3 separate regions of the Homo sapiens genome follow, and regions 2 and 3 are each linked to region 1. The links are contacts of gene promoters, found by promoter capture Hi-C in blood cells and fetal thymus (Javierre and others, 2016). All regions are on one chromosome and are shown on one strand. The core of a region is centred on a gene start or on the middle of the fragment in contact, and the rest is flanking DNA. Distances in the headings are between cores, read along the strand shown.

Region 1 (3,833 bases), core at 483-2,982:
TCTCTGATCCTCGGATTAGAATTATTGCCAATTTATAGAATAGAAATTAAGGATGGGTGCTCACTTCGCACCACATATACTAAAATTAGAACGATACAGAGATTAGCATGGCACTATGCGAAAGGATGACACGCAAATACGTGAAGCGTTCTATAAAAAAGTAAACAACAACAACAAAAATTGAGGACGGGGTGGGTTTTAAATGACTGACAAAGATCACTCAGACAGGAAGGGCAGAGCTAGGATTAGCGTGTAGCTCTCCAGCTACTCAATAGCAGGGATTCTGCCAACCCCATTTTGAGACGCTGACTGGTGACAGAGCTTTCATAAACCTCGATCGACCCAAGCAAACTCAGTTTTAGAAAAAGGCTGGGCTTGGCCAGGCGCGGTGACTAACGCCTGTAATCCCAGCACTCTGGGAAGCCGAGGCGGGAGGATCGCTTGAGCCCGGGAGCTGGAGATCAGCCTGGGCAACATAGTGAGACTTTGTCCCTACAAAAAAGTGAAAAAAAAATTAGCCGGTCGTAGTGGTGCGCGCCTGTGGTCCCAGCTATTCGGGAGGCTGAGGCGGGAGGATCGCTTGAACCTGGGAGTTGGAGTTTGCAGTGAGCTATGATCGCGCCACTGCATTCCAACCTGGGCGACAGAGTGAGACCCCTGTCTCAATTAGGAAAAAAAAAAAAAAAAAAAAAAAAAAAGGCTGGGCCGCGCCTGCGCACTAGCCATAGGGGCGGGGAGGTCAACGCGAGGCCGAGAGTGCTGTGGTGCCAGAGAAGGCGTGTCTGTTTCCCAAACAACCACTGTCCCCACGGCGCCTGTCTGTCCCAAGGTTGGTCGGTATGCCGCGAGTGACGGCGTCTCTTAACCAATCACCGCAGAACTCAGGCTGTTGCCGGGGCGAAGCGGTGTCCGCCTCCCCCGGAAGGGTATTTGTAGGTGGGTGGGACCGGAAGTGACGCTACAGGGGCCAGCTATGCTCCCGGGAGTGTTGATGTTTTCCAGTCATTCCGGCTGACAGCGTTCAAGTTGGAATCCTGGAGGGGAGGTGTTTTTCCTGTCGTACGTGGGACAGGCCACGCTGTCCGTCCGCAGTACCGACGCCTGCAGGTCAGAGCTTCGGGGAGAAAAGTGAAGAGCAAGACGGAACTGACGGGGAGAAAGGCTGGGAACCAGGGTGTCGACTTTGACTGAAATTTGAGACGGAGGGCACCGGAGGGCGAGCACTCGCCTGTGATTGGCCCGTGGGCGTCGTCGAGGTCCCACGCAGCTGCTCAATTGGTTGGTGTTGCAATTGTTGTGGCGGCGGCGGCGGCGATTTTGCCCACGTACTTCCGAGTAAGGGGCGGGGCTGTGCCCTGGCGCGCGTGCGCAGCGCCCCGGGGCCCCACCCGGTAGTGCAAGAACCTGCGAGGGGGCGGAGCGAAGAGGTGCTTGTTTTGGTTCTGTTTCCTTTGAAGCAGAAGGCCGGAACAAGCGTAGCAATAAACTTGCTGGACTTGGAGAGAAGGCTAAGACAAACTCGCCGCACTGCCTTCATCTTGGACTTTACATCCGGGTTCTCCTCTCGGCGTGACCCGCGCGCCGCCACCGCCGCCGCCGCCGCCGCCGCCTCCTCCGCCGCCGAGGGTTCTCGAACCGGTGCCGCGATCCCTTTATCCGGGTCTCGCCGTTCCCGTCGTGCCTCGCGCACTACACTAGCCCCCTCATCCGGGTTCTCTCCCGGCGTGCCCCGCGCCGGGTTTGTTGGGGGGTACTCGGCAGTGCAGCCATGACTATACTCCCCAAAAAGAAGCCGCCGCCTCCCGACGCCGACCCCGCCAACGAGCCGCCGCCGCCCGGGCCGATGCCCCCGGCGCCGCGGCGCGGCGGAGGTGTGGGCGTGGGCGGCGGCGGCACGGGCGTGGGCGGCGGCGATCGCGACCGTGACTCCGGCGTCGTGGGGGCCCGTCCGCGAGCTTCGCCACCGCCTCAAGGCCCGCTACCAGGACCGCCGGGCGCTCTTCATCGCTGGGCGCTGGCCGTGCCGCCTGGTGCAGTGGCGGGTCCCCGGCCACAACAGGCTTCTCCACCTCCTTGCGGGGGCCCAGGTGGTCCCGGCGGCGGTCCCGGCGACGCGCTGGGCGCAGCGGCGGCGGGTGTGGGTGCCGCGGGCGTGGTGGTGGGTGTGGGTGGTGCCGTAGGCGTGGGCGGCTGCTGCTCCGGGCCTGGGCACAGCAAGCGGCGACGTCAAGCTCCCGGGGTTGGCGCGGTTGGCGGGGGCAGTCCCGAGCGTGAGGAGGTCGGCGCAGGCTACAACAGTGAGGACGAGTATGAGGCGGCTGCAGCACGCATCGAGGCTATGGACCCTGCCACTGTCGAGCAGGTAAGAGCTGTGGGGTGAGGGGTGAGCGGCCACGGCAGATGGGACCCCCAGACTGTGAAGGGACTCAAGGAAGGCTGTTTGAGATCGCCCCAAGGGATCTAGGCGTTTTCACTGGGCCTGACAGTCTTCTCTGGCGGTAGGGATGTGAGACACCTTCTTTCCTCCCCTCCAGGATTTTGGGGCTAGAGGCCTACGGTAAGGTGTCAGACTTAAAGATCCGAGGTCTCTTTTAAGGTCTATAGTCGTCATTCCAGTCCCTGGGACCTCATCATATAGGGCCAATAGGTGGGAATTCTCCAAGAGATACAGGTAGGATCGCGCCCCTCTTGAGTAGGAGTCTCAGGTCTCCCAAGAGACTTAGGTATGTGTTCAGTGGCTTAAGAGCTCTTTTCCTCTGGGATAGAAGTTTGAGATTCCCCTTCCAGGAAAGTCAAATAAGGTGGAGACCTCGGAGATCGGGGCTGAACATCCCCAAGGAGCCTAAGCCCTTTCAAGAGTCTGAGACACTCTGCATATAGGACAATCCTCTCCCGCTTCGCTGGGTAACACTGCACAGGACCACTGAATAGCCAGACCTGAGACCTCAAGGGTCCTAAGTCTGTCTTCAGGGGCCTGAGAGTCCTGCTTCTAGAATCAAGGTCCTGACACACACACACACACACACGCCCCCTTTAAGGATAGGGATCTTCTAAGCTTTTTCCAGGGATGTAAGACTTTTCACAGGGAGATATGATTCCCTTGCCCTTGGGGACAGGGACCAAAACCAACACCCAATGACCAGCAGCTTTACTTATCTCCTTTCTGAGTGACAAAGGTCTGCATTTCCTATCAGTGGCCTGAGACCTACCTCTTGGGAGACAAGGGCCTGAACCGCTTCAGGATCTTAAGCTTCTTGTAAGAAGAGATGGGCCCTCAGCACCCCCACCAGGGGCCTGAACCTTTCTTCAGGAAAATGAGACTCACAGCGTTGGATCCTAGGGCCTAAGATCCACCTGCTTATGGACTGAGGTTTTTAGAGACCGAGTCTGAGGCCTCTTCAGGGGCCTGGTGTCCTGCTGCAAAGGTCTCAGACAAGGTGAAGTCTTTAGGAGATCCTTCTTCTCAAGGCTGGTGTCTGAGTGGTTTTGGGGATCTGAGACTCCCCACCCCACGAGCATATGTGACCCTTTTACCCCAATTATAAGGAACTGAAACATACCTTGGGGATACAGTATCCCATTTTCCCCTCTGTAACAGGGGTTTGAGGCCCTCCCACCTTGGGCCTAAGCTTTTTGTCAGGGACATACGACCCATGCCTTGGGAACTTGAGCCTGAGACGACTACTCAGGGGACATGGGCAACATGGGATCCCAGAGATGATGTCTGGGGCCTCCCTACAGATCTTTGCCTACTTTTAAGGGCCTGAGACCCACTCTGCCAAGGACACTTGAGCTTTCCTTCAGGGACAGGAGACTCATACATACCTTGGTGA
Region 2 (3,833 bases), core at 762-3,261, 260 kb after region 1:
TCTCATCTTCTTTTCAGTCCCATTCTCTAATGATTGGTCAACCCTGAAAGCTTGGGAACAGATGGGCCTGTCTCTGCTCCCTAACAGCTCTCCAGAATGAATGGAAAAGACAGGCTGTAAGCTGGCAGTTCCGAGAGGGTGCTGACGTGAATGGGAACTAGAAGACTTGGAGTCAGCTGCTGCTCTGCCCCCTCCTGGATATGGGATCCTGAATGTTCTCTCTGTGCCTGTTTCCTCAGCTAAAAAAAAAAAAAAAAAGCTACAGCCTGGCAGGGTACCAGTTTTAGATATTATTTGGGCCTTTATTTTTTTATCCATTGTACTACTTTTGTGATTTTAATCAAGTTATTCTACCTCTCTGGGCCTCAGTTTTCTCATCTGCAGAATGGGAATGACAGTGACAAAATCCCAACCTGACAGGGGCTGTTGTAAAGATCCATACAAGATCATGGACGTGAAAGGTGTTCCTGTTTCTGATAGGAGAGTGAGCAATGTTAGGAGTGGTTATGAGGACCAGTTATAAATGTAAGGCACACCCTTAATTTTATGTGCCCTTTACCAAGAAAGGAAAAACTGCTGTTAATTATAAATGATACACCATGATTTAATTAAGACATCTTCATTTCCGAGATGTTAAAATAGGAAGAAAATGCATGTTTTAGAATGGATAAAATAGGCTGGCATTGTCTCTTGGGTGAGGATGGGAATGTTCTGCAGGAACGTGAAAGTTCTGACCCAATGTGGGAGGCTGCAAAGGAGGGAAGGGCAGCTCCCGTGGAGGGAGCTCTTGGTACAGACTGTCAGTACATGTCCCAGCTGAAGAAGGACAGTAGATAGCATGGTGTGCAGATAGGCCCTTGATTCCGTAACACCCTGGCAGCATCTGGGACGGCACTACAGAATCAAGTAAATTAGAACTGCTGCAACGAAATGTATGACTATTACCCCAAGTAGGATAAATAAAAACTACAAATAGGACCCTATCCGGTCAGGCTGGGTCCTGTAGCCAGATGGGTTACAAAAAAACTTGGTCTTCCAGACATTTTGGATTTGCTGAAGTTTGAACTATGCTGATAACATTTGTATCAAACTTACTGTGTACTGAACACTGTTCAAGTGCTTTTTCCAAGTGCTTGATACATAGTAACTCATTTAATTTTTGTAACAAGCCTGTGAGGTGAGTGCTATTATTGTTCCCATTTTACATAGTAAATGCAGGCACAGAGGTTAGTGATTGCTGATGAGTAGTGGAGCTGGGATTCAGCCTCGGGCAGTCAGGATCCAGAGTCCACCCTCCTAACCATTTGCTATACTGTCTCTTCAGAGGGGAATGCGGGAAGATGAGTTTGGCTCTTTCCGGAGGCCTGTGGCACCATCAGGAGGACCCATGGGTCTGAGGGTGCTGGAGGGCGGTCAGGAAATAGTGCAGCAAGAATGTGTGGAGAGCAGGAAGGGTGAGGACAGGGCTGAGAGGATCCCTGGGAGGATTAAAGACACTGACACTAAGGAAGAGCAGCCAGAAAAGTCTCAGGCCCAGGAGGGTCTGAGGCTGCCCTTGGGGTGTAGTCTTCCTCCTCGACTGTCAGGACCCTGTGTGGTAGACAGTGTTTCCTCCAGATGCCAGTACAGTGAGGCTGAGATACTTCCTGCTCTGTGCAGCCCCTAGGACGGTGGACTGTCTGGGTCCTATGGGGTCTGGACATCTCCTCCAGAGAGTTTGGGTTCCTTCAACCTCTGGACACTTCCTCCAGAGCGTCAGGACATTGAGGGCATGGACACTTCCCCCGATACTGTCAGGGTGCCCTTGGGTGTAGACTAGATCTCCAGGCTGTCCGGATCCCTCTGGGGTGAGGACACTTCTTTTTCCTGTCATGACAACATGGGTGTGAACACTTCCTAAGTCAGACCACCAGGTCCTCTAGAGTGTGGAGAGCACAAGCTCTTCCTCCAGGTCACTGGGGTCACTGTGGGACATGGACTTCCTGCAGATTATCAGGACTCCTTCCCCCGCCCACTGTCAGGAGCCCTCAGGGTGTGGACACCTCCCCACCTCCTCCTTCCAGATGGCCAGGTCCTGTGGCATGTAGACATCTCCTCCAGCAGGCCAGCAGGGTTATCTGGACAGGGTGTGGCTGTCTCCTTGCCCAGACTGTCAGGGTCCTCTGTGGTGTAGATTGTTCTACCCAAGATTGTCTCTGTCCCTGTCAGATGTGACCCTCTGTACAGTTTCTCAGAGTAGGAGCCTCTCCTTGTCATCAGTATCAGTGCTACAGTGTGGACACCCTCATGTGAGTGTTCCTCAGGCCAGTTTCTGTCACTTTCCAACTATATCACACCCCTAAGGGACCTATGGCTATATATAGAGGTATCTGGGGTTGTCACTATGACAGGGCACACTCATGGATTTAAATGGTCAAGGTCCAGGGATGCTAAATGTCCCCCAATGCATGAGACAGTTCTACATAACGAAAAATCATCTCATCCCAAATGCTAACTGCATCCCATCTTAGAATGCGACATTTTTCTGTTGTAGATACTTGCTAGTTATCTAGTTGCTAGTTATGGCTGTGCTTTAGCCTTGTGCAGCTGGGCACATGGCTAAAGCACATCCTGTTGCCTCTCTTGCATGGAGGTAAGGCCAGTGACTCAGTTCCAGCCAGTGGAGCATGGGCAGAAGTGATGGGTGCTGCATCTAGGCCTGGCCCACTAGGATGGGCCCCTTCTATCCCCCACTTGGCCCGCCTGCCAGGCAATGCTGAGGATCTGGTAGTGACTCCAAGGCTTCAAGGCACAGCAAAGGCACAGGAGGGAAAGAGCCTAGGTGTCCCAGTTGCTGTGTGAAAGGATACCCACTCAAACCCCCACAATGGACTGTTCCATGAGCAAGCAAACTTGTAATGTGCAAAGTCACTAAGATGAGGGGGTTGTTTTTACAATGGCTGGCTTGCCTAATACACTCGGCCTTCCCCAGTGTCCTGAAAGTCTAAAGGAGTTAGCCAACCTTTGTCCAAGGCATGTCTCATCCTACTCCAGACTGCGTTCCTTCTGTGCAGACTGGTAAAACAATGCTCCTCAGGCAGATACTGCTTGGTGATAAGATGGGCCCTTGTGAAATGAGAAGAGGAAGTGCCTTTCCAGCTGATGCAGCCCTATGCCAGACCACATGGCCTGTTACAAGGAATGCTAAGGCTGCCTGGATCTCAGCTCCCACTTTTCTTCTTTGCTAAGTACCCTGATAAAGTCAACCCAGTGCAGAAGTATTTTGGTGTTCCTGTAACCACCAGCATGGCCATGCTGGTGTGTACCAGCTTGGAATACTAGCCCCTGCCCAATGTCCCTGTGACACTCAGATCAGTCTCCCAGGCCTTTCCCATAGGGAAAGCAGGGAGTTTCAGACACACAGTGAGGAGAGCCGGGTGCACACTGTGAACACAGGGTGGGAAGAGCTGCACACACACACCGGGTCCCATCTCCCTACCTCTCCCACGTACTCCATGACGAAGCTGTTCTTGCGAATCTTCTCCAGGGTGCGGACGCCCCAGCCACGCCCATCATCCGTGCGGAAGATGCAGAGGTCATATCGGATACCCTTCTGTACCACACGATTTGGGCAGTCATAGCCGCAGCGGCAGCGGGAGTTGCACTCGTAGATGGGCAGCCCGGCTCGAAGCCGCACCTGGCCCTGGTCATTGTAGGCAAACTTGTGCAGTGACGCCCCCGGGCAGCAGCCTCCAGTGGGTGCCCACAGACAGTCCTGGCACTCGCAGCCCACAGCCACCTGGTTGAGGGTGATGCCCTCACCAACACGGTACTCATTGATGTACACGAAGGCC
Region 3 (3,833 bases), core at 960-3,459, 240 kb before region 1:
GATGGGGTTTCACTATGTTGGCCAGGCTAGTCTCAAACTCCTGACTTCAAGTGATCCACTGTCCACTTCGGCCTCCCAAAGTGCTGGGATTACAGGCATGAGCCACTGCGCCTGGCCGAAGTTGAGCATCTTAAGCCCCAACTGTATTTTGGATTTTGCATCATAGCCATCACTGTTGACCTTGATGGGCCTAGTTTTAGTCGCAGGAAGGAGGGTTATTCCAATTAAGAGAGAGCTAAGGAATAAATAGGTAAAGTGGTAGAGTTCGAGTAGGCATTAATTTGACAAAGAGGAAGAAAGAAATAAGGGAGATGGCTAGATGGGGGCAGGAGTTTCAGGGTGTGCTTAAAATGCAGACTATGAAAAAGGAACCTGGAAGGCCTTGAACCGTGTTTAAACTGCAGGGACTCTGGGCACTGCCAGCTAGTAGCTGGCTGACCTTGTGAGAGTCACTTAAGCTCTCTGGGGAATTATTTTCCTCGTCTGTAAAAACGGCCTAATAGTCCCTACAACGTAGGACTTCTGTAAGCATTAAATGAGTGAACATGTTTAACAAACTCAGAAAAGAGCCTGGCAAAGTTGTCACACTGTAGGACCGAGCAGGGAGGTCTCCTCTCCCCGGCCCTCGACTTGTGTTTTCCCAACGCATATTCCCGCACGCTCTCACGGCTCCAGCCTCCGGGCCGGAATGGCTGCCGGTGAGACTGTGGTACAACCCGCTGTGCGCAGGCGCGTGGCGGGCAAGGAGGGGGCGCGAGGGGCGGGGCTGCAGCCGCCTGGGCTGTTCCAACGAGCGCGCGCCGCCCCCGCCGCGCCCCGCGCCGCCCTTGCTAGCCGAGCCTCCCGCCCCCTGCATTGCTGATGCTGCTGCTGGCGGACATGGACGTGGTGAATCAGGTACGCGCTCCAGCACCGTGGACAGAGCCCGCCGCCGCCCGGCTGCCTAGGCCGGGTCGCTCAGGCCAGCCGACTCTGGGAGGTGGTGGCCAGGGTCTGGCAGCGGAGACCCGGTCCCCGGCGCTGGGGATGGGGGTCTGCGGCAGGTGAAGGGGAGGAAGGGGGAGGTGGAGAAAAGGAGTGCGCTCTTTGCCGCAGCGAGGGCCGTCCTCACTGCCGCAGCGGGGGCCCCCGGAGCCCCGTTTATTACTGGCGACCGCGAGGGGAGGAATAGGGGCCTGGGGGCTGGAGTGAGGGCAAGGGACAAGGGGAGGGGAGAGTGGAAGGAAGATGGGGGGTGCTGCGGATAAGCTAGGAAATAGAGCGACAGAAGGTGTGGGGGCGGGGATGGGGGAGAGGGCTGGCACCCGCCCCTCCCAAACAGAGACTGTACCCCCATAGGCGACCACCCCTTCCCCCAGAGCACACCTAGGGGACAATCCGGTTTTACTCCTTCCAAAACCCCCAGCCTCCTCACCCCCAACACATAGCGACTGAAGCCGTGTCCCAGCCCTCCCCCACCTTAATCAGTCCAGACCCTCTCCGCCATGTCTCTCGTCTTTGCCACCTCAGAAACTCACCCCCAATCAGTCCCAACCCTTCCCCATCCCCATCACCTCAAATATCTACCGCCACCGCCGTCTAACACACCTTTACCCCTGCAGACCCTTCCCCCACCTGAGCCAAACCGACTCCTGCCCCGTTATGACTCACCTTCACCATCACAACCCCCCCACCCGAATGCACCCCACTCCATCCCCATTCTCTACCCGAACCCCTTCCCCATCCGACTCGCCTTTACGTTTCAAACCTGCTCCCCCTCCTTAACTAGTCCTGACCTCATCCCCATCTCCCTCACCCCCGACTTCCTCTGCCATCTGACTCACCATCTCTTCAGACCTTCCCACCAGTCCTTGGACCCTGGGGCTCACACCATCCCCAAGGTGTCACTTTCTCCTTCTCACCCTCTCCCCGAGGTCACATGCTCCATCCCCTGGGGTCATTGATGGGCAGCCTTGCCGCTCACCTCCCTGTACCTCCAACAACCCCACCCCTTCCCCACTGTTTCTCTCCTCAGCTGGTGGCTGGGGGTCAGTTCCGGGTGGTCAAGGAGCCCCTCGGCTTTGTGAAGGTGCTGCAATGGGTGAGTGTGGTCCGGGCTGTTGGGGCAGAGTGCAGGGAGAGAGGGAGGTCATGGGGTCCAGAAGAGCAGGGGTGGAGTAGGGGCGAGTAGCCAGGGATGAGTGCGGGGGTTGTAGGGGATGGGGGAATTGGGCTCCAGGGTGAGGTTTCAGGGGTCTGAAGCCAGAAAACAGATGAGCTGTGACGTCACATAGGGCTGAGGGTACCCCCGTTGTGAAGTGGGAGACTGTGACGTCCTACCTCCTCTCTTGAAGTGAGGGAGGGGTGGGGGAGGTGGAGCCTGTAGCAGATGCTGGGTGAGAGATGCAAAGTCAGAGAAACCCAGAGACAGTGAAGGTGACAGAGAGAATGAGGGACAGGGAATGATAAAGACAGAGATGGAAATACTGAGAAAAAAAAAAGAAATATGGAGATGAGAAGAGATACAGACATAAGAGAGAAGAGACAAACAGAAACAAAGAAAAAGGAGACACAGAAAACAGATGCAAAGAGAAACAGACGCAGGGAGAGAGGCAGGAAAACAGGGTGAGGGAGAGAGAGACACAGAGAGAAAGAGACACTCAGAAAAAAGAGAAACCAACACACAGAGGCAAGAGGGAGACAGAGAGAGAACCATCCGGAGACCGAGTGAGAGACAGGACAGAGAGACAGAGACAAACAGACCAAGAAACAGAAAGACACAGACATACAGGCATACACTTACACAGACAGAGAAAAAAGAGACAAAAAGAGACATCGACAGATCAGATAGGCAGAGGCAGAGAGGATCAGAGACACAGAGAGACAAAGAGACATCTGAGAAAGACAAAGACACATAGAGAAACAGAGATACCGAGAGAAACAGAGACACAGTGAGATACACAGAGAACAACAGAGACAAACAGAGAAGAGGGAGGTCAGCATGGAAAGGCAGAGACAGAGAGAGACACAGAGAGAGAAACAGGAAGAGACAGCCATACCCTTGTAATCAGCTTGTCCTTGGTCCCGATGAGCCCTGATTAGGGGGTGGGGGTGGGGACTGCTCCATCTGCTGCTGCCTGTGCTGGGCCCCCGATCTGTCCAGAGGAGGGCACCTCCCTCCCACATGCACACAGGTTCACTGTGGCCATCCCCATCCCTGCTGCCCAAGGTCTTCGCCATCTTCGCCTTTGCCACATGCGGCAGCTACAGTGGGGAGCTCCAGCTGAGCGTGGATTGTGCCAACAAGACCGAGAGTGACCTCAGCATCGAGGTCGAGTTCGAGTACCCCTTCAGGTGTGCTCCCACCCTGGGATACCAACAGACCTGGGAGAGGAAGGGGCAGGGTGGAACCGGCCAATACCTCCCCCCGCAAGTAGCTCCTGCCCAGCTCCCACCTCGAGGCTACATCCACTGGGATCACTGAGCACCTGCCTTGTACCTGGCACTGCTCTGGACTCTAGGACTATGTGGTGAGCAAGGCAGACATAGGCTGTGGCCCTCTGGCTCTGTTCCAGCGAAGGGGTAAGGGACAGGCAATAAACAAGATACAAAAGTAAGACAGGTGTATATACATACCTTAACCCAGTAGGTACCCAATTAATGTTAGCCAATATTATTATTTAATCCCCATTCATTCATTCTATACACATTTTTGAGAACTTATTTTATATCTGGTACTACTCAAAGTGCTGGAAGCATGATAGTAACTAAAACAGACCCAACTCCCGCCAGGCACAGTGGCTCACGCCTGTAATCCCAGCACTTTGAGAGGCCGAGGTGGGCGGATCACCTGA

The links. Contacts are between HindIII fragments. The CHiCAGO score rates a contact against its expected background, and 5 or more counts as called.
Region 2: a contact is called between a fragment that was not itself captured here and the fragment with the promoter of OTUD5 in region 1, in 1 of 17 cell types (non-activated CD4 T cells). The highest score is 5.6, in non-activated CD4 T cells.
Region 3: a contact is called between the fragment with the promoter of SYP-AS1 here and the fragment with the promoter of OTUD5 in region 1, in 7 of 17 cell types (naive CD4 T cells, non-activated CD4 T cells, monocytes and 4 more). The highest score is 7.9, in naive CD4 T cells.

The regions. Positions count from the first base shown.
Region 1 is chrX:48,955,506-48,959,338 of GRCh38, reverse strand. OTUD5 (OTU deubiquitinase 5) reads left to right here and starts at 1,732. Exons shown (of 9, transcript NM_001136157.2): 1 at 1,732-2,362. The coding sequence starts at 1,769. It also overlaps the pseudogene RNU6-722P. RefSeq lists an enhancer at 986-1,175 and silencers at 1,276-1,435, 1,636-1,685, 2,056-2,115. The HindIII fragment of the contact is 4,109 bases long and covers 1-3,057 here.
Region 2 is chrX:48,700,399-48,704,231 of GRCh38, reverse strand. SUV39H1 (SUV39H1 histone lysine methyltransferase) reads right to left here. Exons shown (of 6, transcript NM_003173.4): 3 at 3,479-3,833. Among named protein-coding and RNA genes, the nearest start is that of SUV39H1, 5.6 kb to the right of the region's middle. The HindIII fragment of the contact is 3,918 bases long and covers 53-3,833 here.
Region 3 is chrX:49,197,215-49,201,047 of GRCh38, reverse strand. It overlaps SYP-AS1 (SYP antisense RNA 1), which reads right to left and starts at 2,209. Exons shown (of 2, transcript NR_046649.1): 1 at 1,824-2,209. It overlaps SYP (synaptophysin), which reads left to right and starts at 855. Exons shown (of 7, transcript NM_003179.3): 1 at 855-897; 2 at 2,015-2,080; 3 at 3,209-3,333. The coding sequence starts at 862. RefSeq lists silencers at 663-902, 973-1,022. The HindIII fragment of the contact is 12,908 bases long and covers 1-3,833 here.